5 separate regions of the Homo sapiens genome follow, and regions 2, 3, 4 and 5 are each linked to region 1. The links are contacts of gene promoters, found by promoter capture Hi-C in human tissues and cell types (Jung and others, 2019). All regions are on one chromosome and are shown on one strand. Each heading gives the region's core, a stretch centred on a gene start or on the middle of the fragment in contact. The rest is flanking DNA. Distances are from core to core; before and after follow the strand shown.

Region 1 (2,700 bases), core at 163-2,662:
GTTTTCCCCCATGCTGTTCTCATGATAGTGAGTGAGTTCTCACGAGATCTGATGGTTTTACAAGTGACGGTTTCCCCGGCTCCCTCCTGCCGCCATGTGAAGAAGGTCGTTGCTTCCCCTTCACCTTCCACCACCATGATTGTAAGTTCCTTTTTTCTTTTCTTTTCTTTTTTTTTTTTTTTTTTTTGAGATGGAGTCTCGCTCTGTCGCCCAGGCTGGAGTGCAGTGGCGCAATCTCAGCTCACTGCAAGCTCTGCCTCCCAGGTTCGCGCCATTCACCTGCCTCAGCCTCTGGAGTAGCTGAGACTACAGGCGCCCACCACCATGCCCGGCTAATTTTGTTTGTATTTTTAGTAGAGATGGAGTTTCACCATGTTGGCCAGGGTGGTCTCAATCTCCTGACCTCGTGATCCACCCACCTCGACCTCCCAAAGTGCTGAGATTACAGGCGTGAGCCACCGCGCCCAGCGATTGTTTCTTGAGGCTTCCCCAGCCATATGGAACTATAAGTCAATTAAACCTCTTTCCTTTTATAAATCACCCAGTCTCGGGTATTTCTTTATAGCAGTGTGAACATGGACTATAATCCAGTGCTCAATAAGTACTCCTCACATTTAGCTATCTCAGTCAAGGGTGAGCTAGATAAGGGCTTTGGCCAGGGCAGGATCACCACCCACCAGCCCATGGCAAACTGCAAAAGGACGGCCTTCCACGGAGAACATGTAGCCCTGACTGCAATTAATGTGTCCTGGGCCAGTCCCCTTGTGCAGTACACAGCCTGCACAACCCTTGGTGGTTGCCTGAACAAGGTGCTTGCTAAATATTTGTTGACTGATGGAAGAAATTCATGAACTTAATCCTGATAAAAAACCTCAGAGGTTTTTTATTTTTTGAGACAAGGTCTGGCTCTGTCGCCCAGGCTGCAGTGCAGTGGTACAGTCTCCACTCACTGCAGCCTCCCAGGTTCAAGCGATTCTCCCACCTCAGCCTCCGGAGGAGCTGGGATTATAGACCTGTGCCACCACGCCCGGCTAATTTTTGTATATTTAGTAGAGACAGGGTTTTTGCCATGTTGGCCAGGCTGGTCTCGAACTCCTGACCTCAAGCGATCCTCCCCACCTCGGCCTCCCAAAGTGCTGGGATCACAGGCGTTAGCCACCTCCTAGCACCTCAGGTTTTTTACCTTTGAGTCTATGAAGCCTGCGGAGGTCACGCCCTAGGGAAAGAAGGAGCCCACTGGGTGTCAGGTCCTGCCTCTAGGGAGGGGACCGCGGGTCAAGGGTGGAGCCCTGGGCCGCATAAGGAAGGAACTAGTGCGGAGGTCCGGGGAGCGGCCGCGCGTTCGGGAGCTTCGGCCCTGCGTAGGAGGCGGGTGCAGGTGTGGGTGCTGAGCCGCCCGCCGCCTGGAGGGGGAGACAGCTTCAGGACACGCAGGCCGCAGCGAGGGCCCGGGCCCTGGGGATCCCAGGTTCGTCTTCCCGCGGCGAGGGTTAGGGGCCGGGCCGAGAGGGACGGCAGCGGGGTCCGGGGCGGGGGTGGGGACCGAGCGCAGCGCGTGACGCGGCGGCGGGGCCCAGCGACAACGAAGCCGAGGCCGTAGGCTCGGGCCGACCTGGAGCTCCGCCGCTGCGCCCAGGTCGCGTCCCCGGGGGGACGGGCGGCGGGCGAGTGGGGAGCCGGGGTCTCCGGCGCCTGGGCGTTCACGGAGCCTGCGGGCGCTGGTCCGGGCGGCCAGGGGTGGGGGGCGCGGGCGGCTGGGCCCGGACTTCGACTGGGGGCCTGGCCCCGGGGCCACCCAGGCGGAGGCTCTGCGGCCGCCTCCACCCCGGCCACATCCCGAGGCCGGCGCCGGGTTCGGAGAACTGTCAAGGGACCTCCAGGCCCCCACACGCCTGCGAGATCCGGCGCTTGCCTTGCCCCAGCCACAGTTTCTGTTTCCGAGAAACCGGTGAAGTAACAATGCCACTAGAGCTTGCTGGGAGGGTGGGTGCGGAGAAGGCGAGCACGAGACGCCGGGCCGGGCAGTTGGGGACCCCGATCGGTGTGAGAGGGCTTCCTAGGGCTGGCATGGACTTCCCCACCACAAAATGCCCAGGGCCGGGGGGGGGAAGGGGCGCAAGAAAATGCGGACTGGGCCAGAGACCAGACTTCGGTCACCACGGTGGGAAGCTATTGGTGCCTAGATGCCTCTAGCTTGGAGCCCAGTGACTTTTATTTCGTCTAGAGTCTAGACAGTGCCTTTAGAAGCTGCCAGCATTTATTTATTTATTTATTTATGGCAGAGTCTTGCTCTGTCACCCAGGCTGGAGTGCAGTGGCATGATCACGGCTCACTGCAGCCTCGACTTCCTGGGCTCAAGCGTTCCTCCTGCCTCAGCCTCCTGCATAGCTGGGACTACAGGCACGGGCCACCAGGCCTAGCTAATTTCTTTTTTTTTTTTTTTTTTTTTTTTTTTGAGACGGAGTGTCGCTCTGTCGCCCAGGCTGGAGTGCAGTGGCGCGATCTCAGCTCACTGCAAGCTCCGCCTCCCGGGTTCAGGCCGTCCTCCTGCCTCAGCCTCCCGAGTAGCTGGGACTACAGGCACCTGCTTCTCGAGTAGCTGGGACTACAGGCACCTGCAACCAAGCCCGGCTAATTTTTTGTATTTTTAGTAGAGATGGAGTTTCACTGTGTTAGCCAGGACGGTCTCGATCTCCTAAC
Region 2 (2,700 bases), core at 18-2,517, 330 kb before region 1:
CATGGTGGCACGTGCCTATAGTCCCAGCTAGTAGGGAGGTGGACATAAGAGGATCCCTTGAGCCCAGTAGGCCAAGGCTGCAGTGAGCCATGATCAGGCCATTGGACTCCAGCCTGGGTGACAGAGTGAGACCCTGCCTGTGTCAAAAAAAAAAAAAAAAAAAAAAAAAAAGCCTGGGCTCAGTGGCTCACACCTGTAATCCCAGCACTTTGGGAGGCCGAGGCGGGGGATCATTTGAGGTCAGGAGTTCGAGACCAGCCTGGCCAACATGGTGAAACCCCGTCTCTACTAAAAATACAAAGAATTAGCAGGGTGTGGTGGTGCGCGTCTGTAATCCCAGCTACACGGGAGGCTGAGGCAGGAGAATCACTTGAACCCAGGAGGTAGAGGTTGCAGTGAGCCGAGATTGTGCCACTGCACTCCAGCCTGGGTGACAGAGCGAGACTCCATCTTGGAAAAAAAAAGACAAAAAATCCAAGCTTCTCTTTGTGTCCCATGCCTGACCTAACCTTCTCTTCTTTTTCCAGCCTCTTCTCACCCCAAGATCTCCTCCACTGCCCTACCACACTGACCCTTTCTGCCCCTGTACCGCCAGAACTCGGTCTCTCTCCACACCTTTGCCCTTCCATTCTCTCTGCCTGGCATGCTCTCGTCTCAGATCTAAGGGCTGACTGCTTCTTATCATTCAGGTCTCAGCACAGATGTCACCTCTGTGCAGAGCCTTCTCCTGACCACCCCCGAACCCAGCACATCCTATCTCCTTTTCCTGTTTTATTGCTTCATTGCATTTGACATTGTGAGTCTAAAATCTAAGATTTTGTCATTTATTTATAGTTTATTCTTTTCATATCTGTCTCCCCCACTGGAATGTCAGTTAGCTCCATGAGGGCAGGGACTGTGTCTGGTCATTGCTCTGACTCTGGGGCCCTGAACAGTGTGCGCCTCATAATAGGTGTTCAATAAATGTTTGCTGAATGCATGAATGCATGAACATTTCATGTTGGAGGGAGGCTTGCTTGGGGCATCCCTGCTGGGCAGCTTAGCTCCTTCCTGCCCCAGGACCTTGCTATGCCAACACTAGAAGGTGAGGAGGGGGGCAGGGAGGGAAGTGGGGATGAGGTCAGAGCTCCCAGCCTGAGTGCCACTCCTCGGGTGCTGAGCCGTGGGGGGTGACGGCCGCTCTGAGGGAGATGGATGACCTGTACTGGGTGGCTGCCCCGGGAAGCTGCTTCCTATTAATAACAGCAGTAGCACTGCCAGGAGGGGAAGGGGAGGGAGGCAGAGGCAGCGGAGATGGGATAATGCCCCTCACCCCTCACCAAGCCAGGAAAATGGCATCGTATTTTCTAGAAGACAAGAATGCCACTTTTAAAGAAAATTAGGCCAGGCACGGTGGCTCACGCCTGTAATCCCAGCACTTTGGGAGGCCGAGGCGGGCGGATCACCAGGTCAGGAGATCGAGACCATCCTGGTGAACACGGTGAAACCCCGCCTCTACTAAAAAAAAAATACAAAAAATTAGCCGGGCATGGTGGCGGGCGTCTGTAGTCCCAGCTACTTGGGAGGCTGAGGCAGGAGAACGGTGTGAACCCTGGAGGCGGAGCTTGCAGTGAGCCGAGATCGCGCCACTGCATTCTAGCCTGGGCGACAGAGTGAAACTCTGTCTCAAAAAAAAAAAAAAAAAAAAAAATTTGGCCTGGTTTGTAAATGGGTCTCTGTCTGCTCTGCAGCCCTCCCTGTGGACAACTCCTCCGTGCGTGGAGGCTTCTTCCCCGGCTGGGTGGACCCTACAGGCAGCCAGAGGGATGTCCCCCTTACCCCTCCCCTTGTCTGGGCCAGCCCCAAACAGAGGCCGTGGCTGAGAGGGAAGTGTCTGCACCCTGGGGCTGGGGAGGATGAACTTTGTCCAAACTCCTCTGACTCCTTTCTCCGAGGGTGGTTATTGGGAAACAGGAGTGAAGGTGAGTATGGGAGGGAGGAGGAGGAGGAGAAGCAGAGAGAGAACAGAGATGGTGTAGGCTGCTTGGTGGCAGACCGGGGCGTGGGCAGGAAGGCCCAATCTGGTCCCACCAGATACCTGGCTTTGCCCTTGTCCTGGGGCAGGCAGGGGGCATTGAGGAGCTGGCAGAACTGTGGACAGAAGGAGAGCGGAGCCGCTTTCTCTCCCAGCGAGAAAAGAGCCCAGTCACTCTCATTTTCAGGGGAAGCAACATGCCACACCCCCCGAGACACCTCTGTCCCCAGCACAGTAGCTCCTGATGGCTGCCCGGTGAGGATGCTGCGGGCAGGTCCCACTGTCCCCCCAGGCTCTGGCGTGCTCCCCCCAACCAAGATGCCCCAGCAGGGCCCCTAGTGGCCCAGGTCTGTGGCCATCCTGGTTCCTGTCTCCACTGTCTATCTGGAGCCCCTCTCCAAGCCTCCATCCCCCACCAGCCCCCTCCCCGCCTCACCGGGCCACAGCCCCAGCTTGGTCTCTATCTTCTCACCCAGCCCTGCCTCTCACTAGGCCTCACTGCCGCCTAGCCCTATCCCTTCTTTGGGCCCTGATCCTCTGTCCTGAGTCCTCTGGCCCCGGACACGTTATACTTCCATGACCAAGGGTCTTTGTAAATTCTTCAGGCGCTCTCCAGAAGCCCCAGTCCCCTCATACTCACAGCTCTGAACACAGCCCGGCCCTGTCCCTAAAACCCAGACAGGACC
Region 3 (2,700 bases), core at 90-2,589, 450 kb before region 1:
TAACAGCCCTAAGAAAACCCAATCCCTTCATGGTTTATGAGCAGTAACAAAGAGGGCTTTCATGAAAATAGAAAAGCACCCTTGTGATATTAAAGTAAAATTGCTTTGTTGTGTGTGAGGCAAATAACCCAATTGTCTATTTCTGGCAGAACAATTACTGCAGGATTTCTCTTCAGCCTTCATGCCTTGTAGTTTTGTACCTGGGAACCTGGAGCAACAGCCCTTCCTCCCCCTCAAAATCCAGTGGGCTTTGTTCCACTTCCTGTACTAAGACTGTAACAGCTCTACAAAGATCCGTGAAAAAAAGTCTATGTCATTCAAACTTGCTTCTGAGCCTTCCTTGACCCAAACATGGAAGAGGCCAAAGCATTAACTTCTACTCACTCTCATGAGGGTGACTATTTCATCCATATAAGGTCTGATGTGGCTCTTCACAAAGGACACCAACATTCCCAGCTGCTGGAACAAAAACTGAAATGGACAAGAGGTCAACCAGCTGGTATCATGAAGGACATTGAACCCCCAGGCTTACCTTAAGCTCATGTGAACAAATAAAGGCAACTATGGAATGGGTTTCCACACTACACTATCTACTGAGAATATATTTCAAAGACCCAAGCTTGGCTAGGTTTGGAGGCTCAGTGCTTTGGGAGGCCAAGGCGGGAGGACTGCTTGAGGCCAAGATTTCAAGAACAGCCTGGGCAACATGGCGAGATCCTGTCTCTACAAAAAAAATACAAAAAATTAGCTGGGCACTTGCCTGTAGTTCTAGCTACTGGATGCTAAGGTGGGAGAAATGCTTGAGCCCAGAAGTTCAAGGCTGTAGTGAGCTATGCACGTGCCACTGCACTCTACAGAGTGCAGGGTGACAGGGTGAGACCCTGTCTCTTAAAAAAAAAAAAAAAAAAGACACAAACTTAAATGGTGATAGTGGTGGGGACTCAAAACAATTGTCAGAGGTTTTTACACACAAGGCGAGCCAGTTACTGCACAGCAGGGGCTTTGTAACCCTCATTTAACCTCCCTGTGCCCAGGCTCTTCCATGGGAAAATGGAGATAATAATACTTACCTCATAGACTTCTAAGGCTTAAATGGGATAATTCATGTCAAGCACTAGAACAGGGACGTGAATACTATTCAGTGCTCAATGAATGTCTGTATCATTGAAGGATTCCTGGAATTACTAAACTTAAAAATAAACCTGAAAGTTTTTACCAACTGTAAATGTACCTTTTGTTTATTTGGCTCTAATTAATTACCACTTCCTTCCTAAAATAAATACAGCTAACTCTTGATTATGGGTATTGTAGCTCATTTATAGTAATTAACTCATTACTTAGGTCTTAATTAATTAACTATGTCTCTGAGAGATTATGAGCCAAAATAAGCAAGCAAACTGGGGTAGGGATAGGATGAGGAGATTCTACTGAAGTCAGTACCTTTTAGGTGTAGGAAGAAAAAACATGCACTAAATAAAGCTGGGAATAAGGAAGGTGTGGGTAAAGAAAATCTCAACTACTTTCCAGGTTAAAGATTTGTCTTCAAGATGTAGGTTTTATTTTGTTATGAGCTTCAGATAGTATTACACGCCAGTAATAAGTAGCAAATAATATTTGACACCCCTTCCCCCAATTTTTTTTTTTTTGAGACAGAGTCTCACTCTGTCACCCAGGCTGGAGTACAGTGGCATGATCTCGGCTCACTGCAAGCTCCCGGGTTCAAGCCTCCCGGGTTCAAGCCATTCTCCTGCCTCTGCCTCCCGAGTAGCTGGGACTACAGGCGCCCGCCACCATGCCCGGCTAATTTTTTTTTTTTTTTGTATTTTTTTAGTAGAGACAGGGTTTCACCGTGTTAGCCAGGATGGTCTCGCTCTCTTGACTTCATGATCCGCCCGCCTTGCCCTCCCAAAGTGCTGCGATTACAGTCGTGAGCCACCACGCCTGGCCCCCTTCCCCAAATTTTTACAGCTCTCTCTGCCTTTGTTTCTCTCCATTAACAAGGATAATTTAGAAAATGAACATATGTATTTTCACTCCTATCCACATGCAAGTCGGGTAAGTTGGAATAAATAAAAAGCATTACTTAAAAAAAAAAGTGCTATCTCAAACAGTGAGTAATGGATTTATAGTACTCATTACCCAAAGAGGCAAGATCGATAGGACATACAGGATTGGGCTTAAAGAAGAGTTTGAACATATTCCCTAATGATAACTTTGACTTCTAAGGTGATTACAGCCTGGTCCCCATGTGGCACACATTTGACTCAGTAGGCTCATTTCTACCTATCTCCTGGTCCCCACCATTCCCCAAATTGAATCACTACAGTTTTGTAGTGATTCCCCATACAAATATGTATAGTGGTCCCTATACAAATATGTTATTACAGGCCGGGCGCGGTGGTTCACGCCTGTAATCCCAGCACTTTGGGAGGCTGAGGCGGGCAGATCACAAGGTCAAGAGTTTGAGATCAGCCTGGCCAACATGGTGAAACCCCATCTCTACTAAAAATACAAAATTTAGCTGGGCATGGTGGCATGTGCCTGTAATCCCAGCTACTCGGGAGGCTGAGGCAGGAGAATTGCTTGAAACCGGAAGGCGGAGGTTGCAGTGAGCTAAGGTCACACCATTGTACTCCAACCTGGGCGACAGGGCGAGACTCCATCTCAAAAAAAAAAAAATGTTATTACAAAGATCAAGGA
Region 4 (2,700 bases), core at 10-2,509, 350 kb before region 1:
AGCCCTCCAGAGTCCCTTCCCCTTATTCCAGACCTGGAGGGCAGATGAGCCGCAGCCAGACAAATCTGATTTCTCAAGCAGGTTTAAAGGGCTTTTCCCAGAGACCCTGAGCTCATTTCTCCTTTCTGTGTCTCCAAAGTGCCAAGGCAGCAATTTGGATCTCAAACGCCCCGATAGGGGTGCAGCCAAGTTCTTTATTGCACACAATGAATTTGTTATGTGGGGATTCTTTGGCCTAAAGGATGGCTTAAAGTCCTGGTGTCCCACTGTGTCCCAGCGTGGCCAGTGCTGAGGGGCAGGAGAGCTGCCTTGCTTGCCTGTCTTCTGAGAGGATGGTTGTGGACACCTGAGGTCAGAGACAGATCACCTGTGGACTCCAGTCCTGCTGCTGGCTGCTCCTGTTTATTGAGAGCTTTGCAGGCCCAGAGAAACCCAGTCATTTATCTACAGTCCCACAGCAGGAAGCTGCAGGGCTGAGATTTGCTCCCAGTCCTGTCTGACCTCAAAATCCCCTGCTCTTGATCGTGAGGCCACACTCCCTCAGCCTGGTGAGCCTGTGGGCCCAGCTGCTCTAGGGGTAACGCACCACCTCCCAGCCCCTAGTTCACCCAGGGGCCTTATAAGATGCAGCAGGACTGAGCCAGAAGCCGAAGGGAATGACAGCCTGGGGCTGAGGTTCCTGGGTCCCTGACACTCACAAACTGCTCCAGCTCTCAGAAGCCAATCAGAGACTCCGTAGTTTCCTGCTCGGCTGAATTCTCCTCTCTGGAGGCAGAGAAAGGAGGTGCTTTGCCATCTCTGGTTGTGGGGCTTTATCTCTGGAAACTCTGCAGTGCGTGTGAAAACCTGTGGACCAAAGAACGAGGAAGAAAGATTAAAGAGGGAAAGGATTAAGATCTACAGGGCTTCCCATGCTCTGCACAGCCGCTCTCAGAAGCTGCTCTGCGATCTCTCTATTAGATGACCGACAGCTGCCAGCTCTGGAGGTGAGAAGGGCTGAGCCCCTCACCCCAGCCAGGAGCCACTGAGAAAGCAGCATAGTCAGGACAAAAAGACAGGAAGGGCGGGGGCGGGGGTGTCGGGGTGTTGGGAGGTGGCAGAACACAGAAGTGGATTTCACTGGAATAAAAGGGCAGATGGGAGGGCAGAGCCGTGGATGTGTTCCATGAGTGCCATGCTGCAGGGTGAAGGGACCCTGGCCCTCCCATCTGTCTCCCTTCCCACCTGGATTAGTGAGCTACCCCAAACTTAGCAGCTTAAGACAACAATAAACATCTCTATATTCCAGTTTCTGTGGGTCAGGAACCTGTGGGCAGCTGAGTTCAGGGTCTCTCCTGAGGTCACCGTCGTCAGGGGTCTTGCTGGGGCTGGAGGACCCACCTCCAAGATAGAACTCACATGGTGCTAGGCTCCTTCAGCACAGGCCTCCCCACGTGTTGGCACTCCCCAGAGTGGGTGATACAGAAGAGAAAGAACCAGGCCAAAGCCGCCATGGTTGTTTTTTTTTTTTTTTTTGAGATAGGGTCTCACTCTGTCACCCAGGCTGGAGTGCAGTGGTGGGATCATAGCCCACTGCAGCCTCGAACTCTTGGGCTCAAGCACTCCTTCCACCTCAGCCTCCCAAGTAGCTGGGACTATAGGCGGGCACCACCACACCTAGCTCATTTTTAGTTTTTTCTTTGGTAGAGATGGGGGTCTCACTATGTTACCCAGGCTGGTCTCGAACTGACCTCAAGTGATCCTCCTACCTCAACCTCCCAAAGTGCTGGGATTACAGGCATGAGGCCACTGTGCCCAGCCCCCTACCATGGCTTTTTTATGAACTGGTCTCAGAAGTCTCATACCATCCTTAAGGTCACCCATTATTGTTCCCAGCTTCCCCTGCACTCTAGACAATCACTGCTGACAGCCAGGCTGCCAGGGGTTCCTGCAGTGGCTGTGTCTGATGCCAACATGGCCAGCCCCTAAAGGTTGTGATATCTGTGTCCCCAGGACCCCTTTTCAGATATCATGATGGGCAACATCAGTCTAGGAAGGTAGACCCTCCAAACTGTGCACCATCCCACACCCTTCACCCACCTCCACCCTCTCCTTGTTGCCCCGCTTATAGCCACATCTTCCATCTCCAAAGAAGATGCTCTCAGCAGTGACTGGAGCATGGGGAGGCTGGAAACAGTAGGGGTCCACTTTTATGGAGTGCTTGCTATGTGTGAAGTTGGTACTGAGCACGGCAAAAGTACTAACTCCTTACAGCCTCTCTGCAGGATAGGTGCCTCCCATTTTATAGATGGGGAAACTGAGGCACAGGGAGGGTAAGTGGCTTGCTGAAGACACACAGCTCTCAAGTGGCAGAGCTAGGAACTGAACCCTAGTACTCTGCCTCCAGAGCCCATGCTGTTAACCTTATATTTATAGCATTTGTGACATTAGGCAACATTTCCTTTCCGCAAGAGAGCCGCATTCATCAGGCAGGGATTGGAGTTCAGGGTACAGCAAGAAAGACACAGGTTAGATACCTGGAGGGCTTTCCAGGCCACAGGTCATGAGGCCTCAGTGCAACTTTGTCCCCTGAGGATGTTCAGAAAATGAGGTCTTCCCAGGCTGCGTTGAGCACAGCCAAAGGCTAAGGGGCGGTGGTCATTGTTTTTAAATTAAAAATTGTGATAATTTATACATAATACAAAATGTTCCATTTTAATC
Region 5 (2,700 bases), core at 17-2,516, 290 kb before region 1:
CTGAGGCCTGGCTCCACACACCTCACAGGAACTCCTAGAAGAAGGGAGGCTGTCAGGTACCCCTGACCTCTTTCCTGAGCTGTTCAGGACTCGCTGGCTCACTCGGGGCAGGTGAATCCCGCTAACCCACCAACTGGCCTCACTTCTCCCTTCCACGGAGTAATAGCAGCCTCCACCTCCCAGGTCCATCTGTGCACTTGAACCCCTGGATTTCAGGCCCGGTGTTCCTCAGAGATGGCTGCTCCTTATGTGCCCTGGGCCTGGGCTGATAAACCAGAACCCATGGGTACCTCCCAACTCACTCCCTTTTGCTGCCAACTAAATTAGCTCCTGTGGGCATTCCTCCACCCCCAGCCCAAGAACAAACAGCAAATTAATGAAACAGATGGGCTCTGTCTGCTCTGCTGGCTCTCAGCACTCCCATATTCAGGGCAGGGCTGAGACTGGACTAAATCATTTCTCCTTTGCTCCTGGGCACACAGCTAGACTACATTGCTAGCCTCCCTTGTAGACAGCGACCTTGGGCCACTTGGCTGAGTTCTGGCCAGCGGAATGTGGGTAGAAGTGATGACTGGCGTGCCCACACCTGGCCTGTGACACCTCCTACGCAACATCCCGTCTGCCGCCCTGTTTTCTGCCAGCCGAATGAAGAGGATCCAACAGAGAACTCCGAGGCCCTAGGAGACTGGGGAGGACAAGTTGGAAGGAAGCTTTATTTGTTATTTTATTAAAATTATTATTATTATTATTTCAAGACAGGGTCCTGCACTGTTGCCCAGGCTGGAGTGCAGTGGTACAATTACAGTTCGTTGTAGCCTCCGACTCCTGGGCTCAAGTGATCCTCCGGCTTCAGCCTCTTGAGTAGCTGGGACTATAGGTGCATGCCACCACATCTAGCTAATTTAAAAAATACCCTGTAGAGTGAGCATCTCCCTATGTTGCCCAGGCTGGTCTCAATCCTGGCCTCAAGGATCCTGCTGCTTCAGCCTCCAGAGTGCCGGGATGACAGGTGTGAGCCACCGCACCCAGCCTAGAAGGAATCTTTAGAGAGTGAAAGACCTGGGTGGAAATCCCAGCTCAACCCCTCAAAGCTGTGTGATCCTGGGCAGGTCACTTACCTCTCTGAGCTCAGTTTCCTCGTCTATAGATAGAGGATAATGATAGTGCCATCCTTGTAAAGTTGTTTTGAGAATCAAATAGGATTCTTTGATTTGAAACAGCTCTGAAAGTTCATCGGAGCCCCAGGGCTCCCTGCAGTATTGTCTGGGCCCTTTGTAGCCACCGCATCACAGTTCAATTTCTCCCTCTGTCTAATTCTGCTCTTTTTCTCCTTTTCAGAAATCCCTACCGCTGAGTTCTGGTGGAAGGCAGTTAGTATTGGAAGAGGTCATGGGAAGCAGATTTTTCAATGGGATTTTTGAGTTGCGTTACTTGCTGGGTCCAGCAATGAGGCCCCCATCCCTGGGAGGTAGGGGTCTGTTGTGCTATAGCAGGGCAGTTGTTAAAACTCTCAGTCATGGTGAACTGGGATGGAAAATCCACAGAAGGGAATGCATTGGCAGATATATCTCAGCCATTTGAGAGATTTGGGGGAAGTAATCATTATAAAAACTGTGGAGTCAGATAGTGATTGCTGGCCAGGCACAGTGGCTCACCCCTCTGTAATTCCAGCACTTTGTGAGGCCACGATGGGAGGATCATTTGAGGGCAGAAGTTCAAGACCAGCCTGGGCAACCTAGCAAGATCCTGCCTCTACAAAAAAACGCAACCCAACCCAAACCAACTAAACAAACGAAAAACCATCCAAGAATGCCTGAAGACATTTCTGTTGTCATAATTGTGGGGGAGGGGGATGGCATGGCTATTGGTACCCAGGAGGTAGAGGTCAGCGATGCTGTTAAAAATCCTATGATGCGACCGGGCGCGGTGGCTCACGCCTGTAATCCCAACACTTTGGGAGGCCGAGGCAAGCAGATCACCTGCGGTCAGGAGTTCGAGACCAGCCTGGCCAACATGGCTAAATCCCATCTCTACTAAAAATACAAAAATTAACTGGGCATAGTGGCGGGTGCCTGTCATCCCAGCACTTTGGGAGACCAAGCTGGGTGGATCACCTGAGGTCAAGAGTTGGAGACCAGCCTGGCCAACATGGTGAAACCCCATCTCTACCAAAAATACAAAAATTAGCTGGGCATGGTGGCGGGTGCCTGTAATCCCAGCTACTCAGGAGGCTGAGGCAGGGAGAATCACTTGAACCCGGGAAGCAGAGGTTGCAGTGAGCCAAGACTGTGCCACTGCACTCCAGCCTGGATGACAGAGGGAAACGCTGTCTCAAAAAAAAAAAAAAAAAAAAATCCTACAGCTCCTACGACAAAGAATTATGTGGCCCAAAATGTGAATAGTGCCAAGGTGGTGGCGTGCATCTGTAGTCCCAGCTACTTGGGAGGCTGAGGAAAGAGGATCGCTTGAGCCCAAGAAGTCAAGTTTGCAGTGGGTGGTGAGCATACCACTGCACTCCAGCCTGAGTGACAGAGCAAGACCCTGTCTCAAAAAATAAAAGTAAAAAAGGGAAAAAAAAACCAGATAGTGATTGCTGGGGGCCTTCAGTGCATTGGAAGAAGACCATGTAAAGCTGGGGTGATTAATCACCGATTTAAGTGAGGTGTGAGATCCAGAGGCCCTCCTTGGCAGCATATATCA

Evidence for each region. Contacts are between HindIII fragments. The study calls those that stand out against the background at their distance.
Region 2: a fragment that was not itself captured here is called in contact with the fragment with the promoter of FBXO6 in region 1 in 2 of the 25 tissues and cell types used here (mesendoderm cells and neural progenitor cells).
Region 3: a fragment that was not itself captured here is called in contact with the fragment with the promoter of FBXO6 in region 1 in 4 of the 25 tissues and cell types used here (dorsolateral prefrontal cortex, heart left ventricle, lymphoblastoid cells and 1 more).
Region 4: a fragment that was not itself captured here is called in contact with the fragment with the promoter of FBXO6 in region 1 in 1 of the 25 tissues and cell types used here (H1 embryonic stem cells).
Region 5: a fragment that was not itself captured here is called in contact with the fragment with the promoter of FBXO6 in region 1 in 6 of the 25 tissues and cell types used here (adrenal gland, dorsolateral prefrontal cortex, lymphoblastoid cells and 3 more).

Annotation. Positions count from the first base shown.
Region 1 is chr1:11,662,788-11,665,487 of GRCh38, forward strand. FBXO6 (F-box protein 6) reads left to right here and starts at 1,413. Exons shown (of 6, transcript NM_018438.6): 1 at 1,413-1,468. It overlaps FBXO44 (F-box protein 44), which reads left to right. Exons shown (of 6, transcript NM_033182.7): 6 at 1-540. RefSeq lists silencers at 1,479-1,698, 1,749-1,818 and an enhancer at 1,939-1,988. The HindIII fragment of the contact is 9,200 bases long and covers 1-2,700 here.
Region 2 is chr1:11,332,649-11,335,348 of GRCh38, forward strand. No RefSeq gene overlaps it. Among named protein-coding and RNA genes, the nearest start is that of UBIAD1, 61 kb to the left of the region's middle. RefSeq lists an enhancer at 1,192-1,694. The HindIII fragment of the contact is 5,983 bases long and covers 1-2,700 here.
Region 3 is chr1:11,215,764-11,218,463 of GRCh38, forward strand. MTOR (mechanistic target of rapamycin kinase) reads right to left here. Exons shown (of 58, transcript NM_004958.4): 20 at 385-471. Among named protein-coding and RNA genes, the nearest start is that of ANGPTL7, 28 kb to the left of the region's middle. The HindIII fragment of the contact is 5,065 bases long and covers 1-2,700 here.
Region 4 is chr1:11,311,558-11,314,257 of GRCh38, forward strand. LOC105376737 (a long non-coding RNA gene) reads right to left here. Exons shown (of 3, transcript XR_946957.4): 3 at 319-846. Among named protein-coding and RNA genes, the nearest start is that of UBIAD1, 40 kb to the left of the region's middle. The HindIII fragment of the contact is 9,068 bases long and covers 1-2,700 here.
Region 5 is chr1:11,376,805-11,379,504 of GRCh38, forward strand. LOC105376740 (a long non-coding RNA gene) reads left to right here. Exons shown (of 4, transcript XR_946959.3): 4 at 483-732. Among named protein-coding and RNA genes, the nearest start is that of DISP3, 100 kb to the right of the region's middle. The HindIII fragment of the contact is 5,798 bases long and covers 1-2,700 here.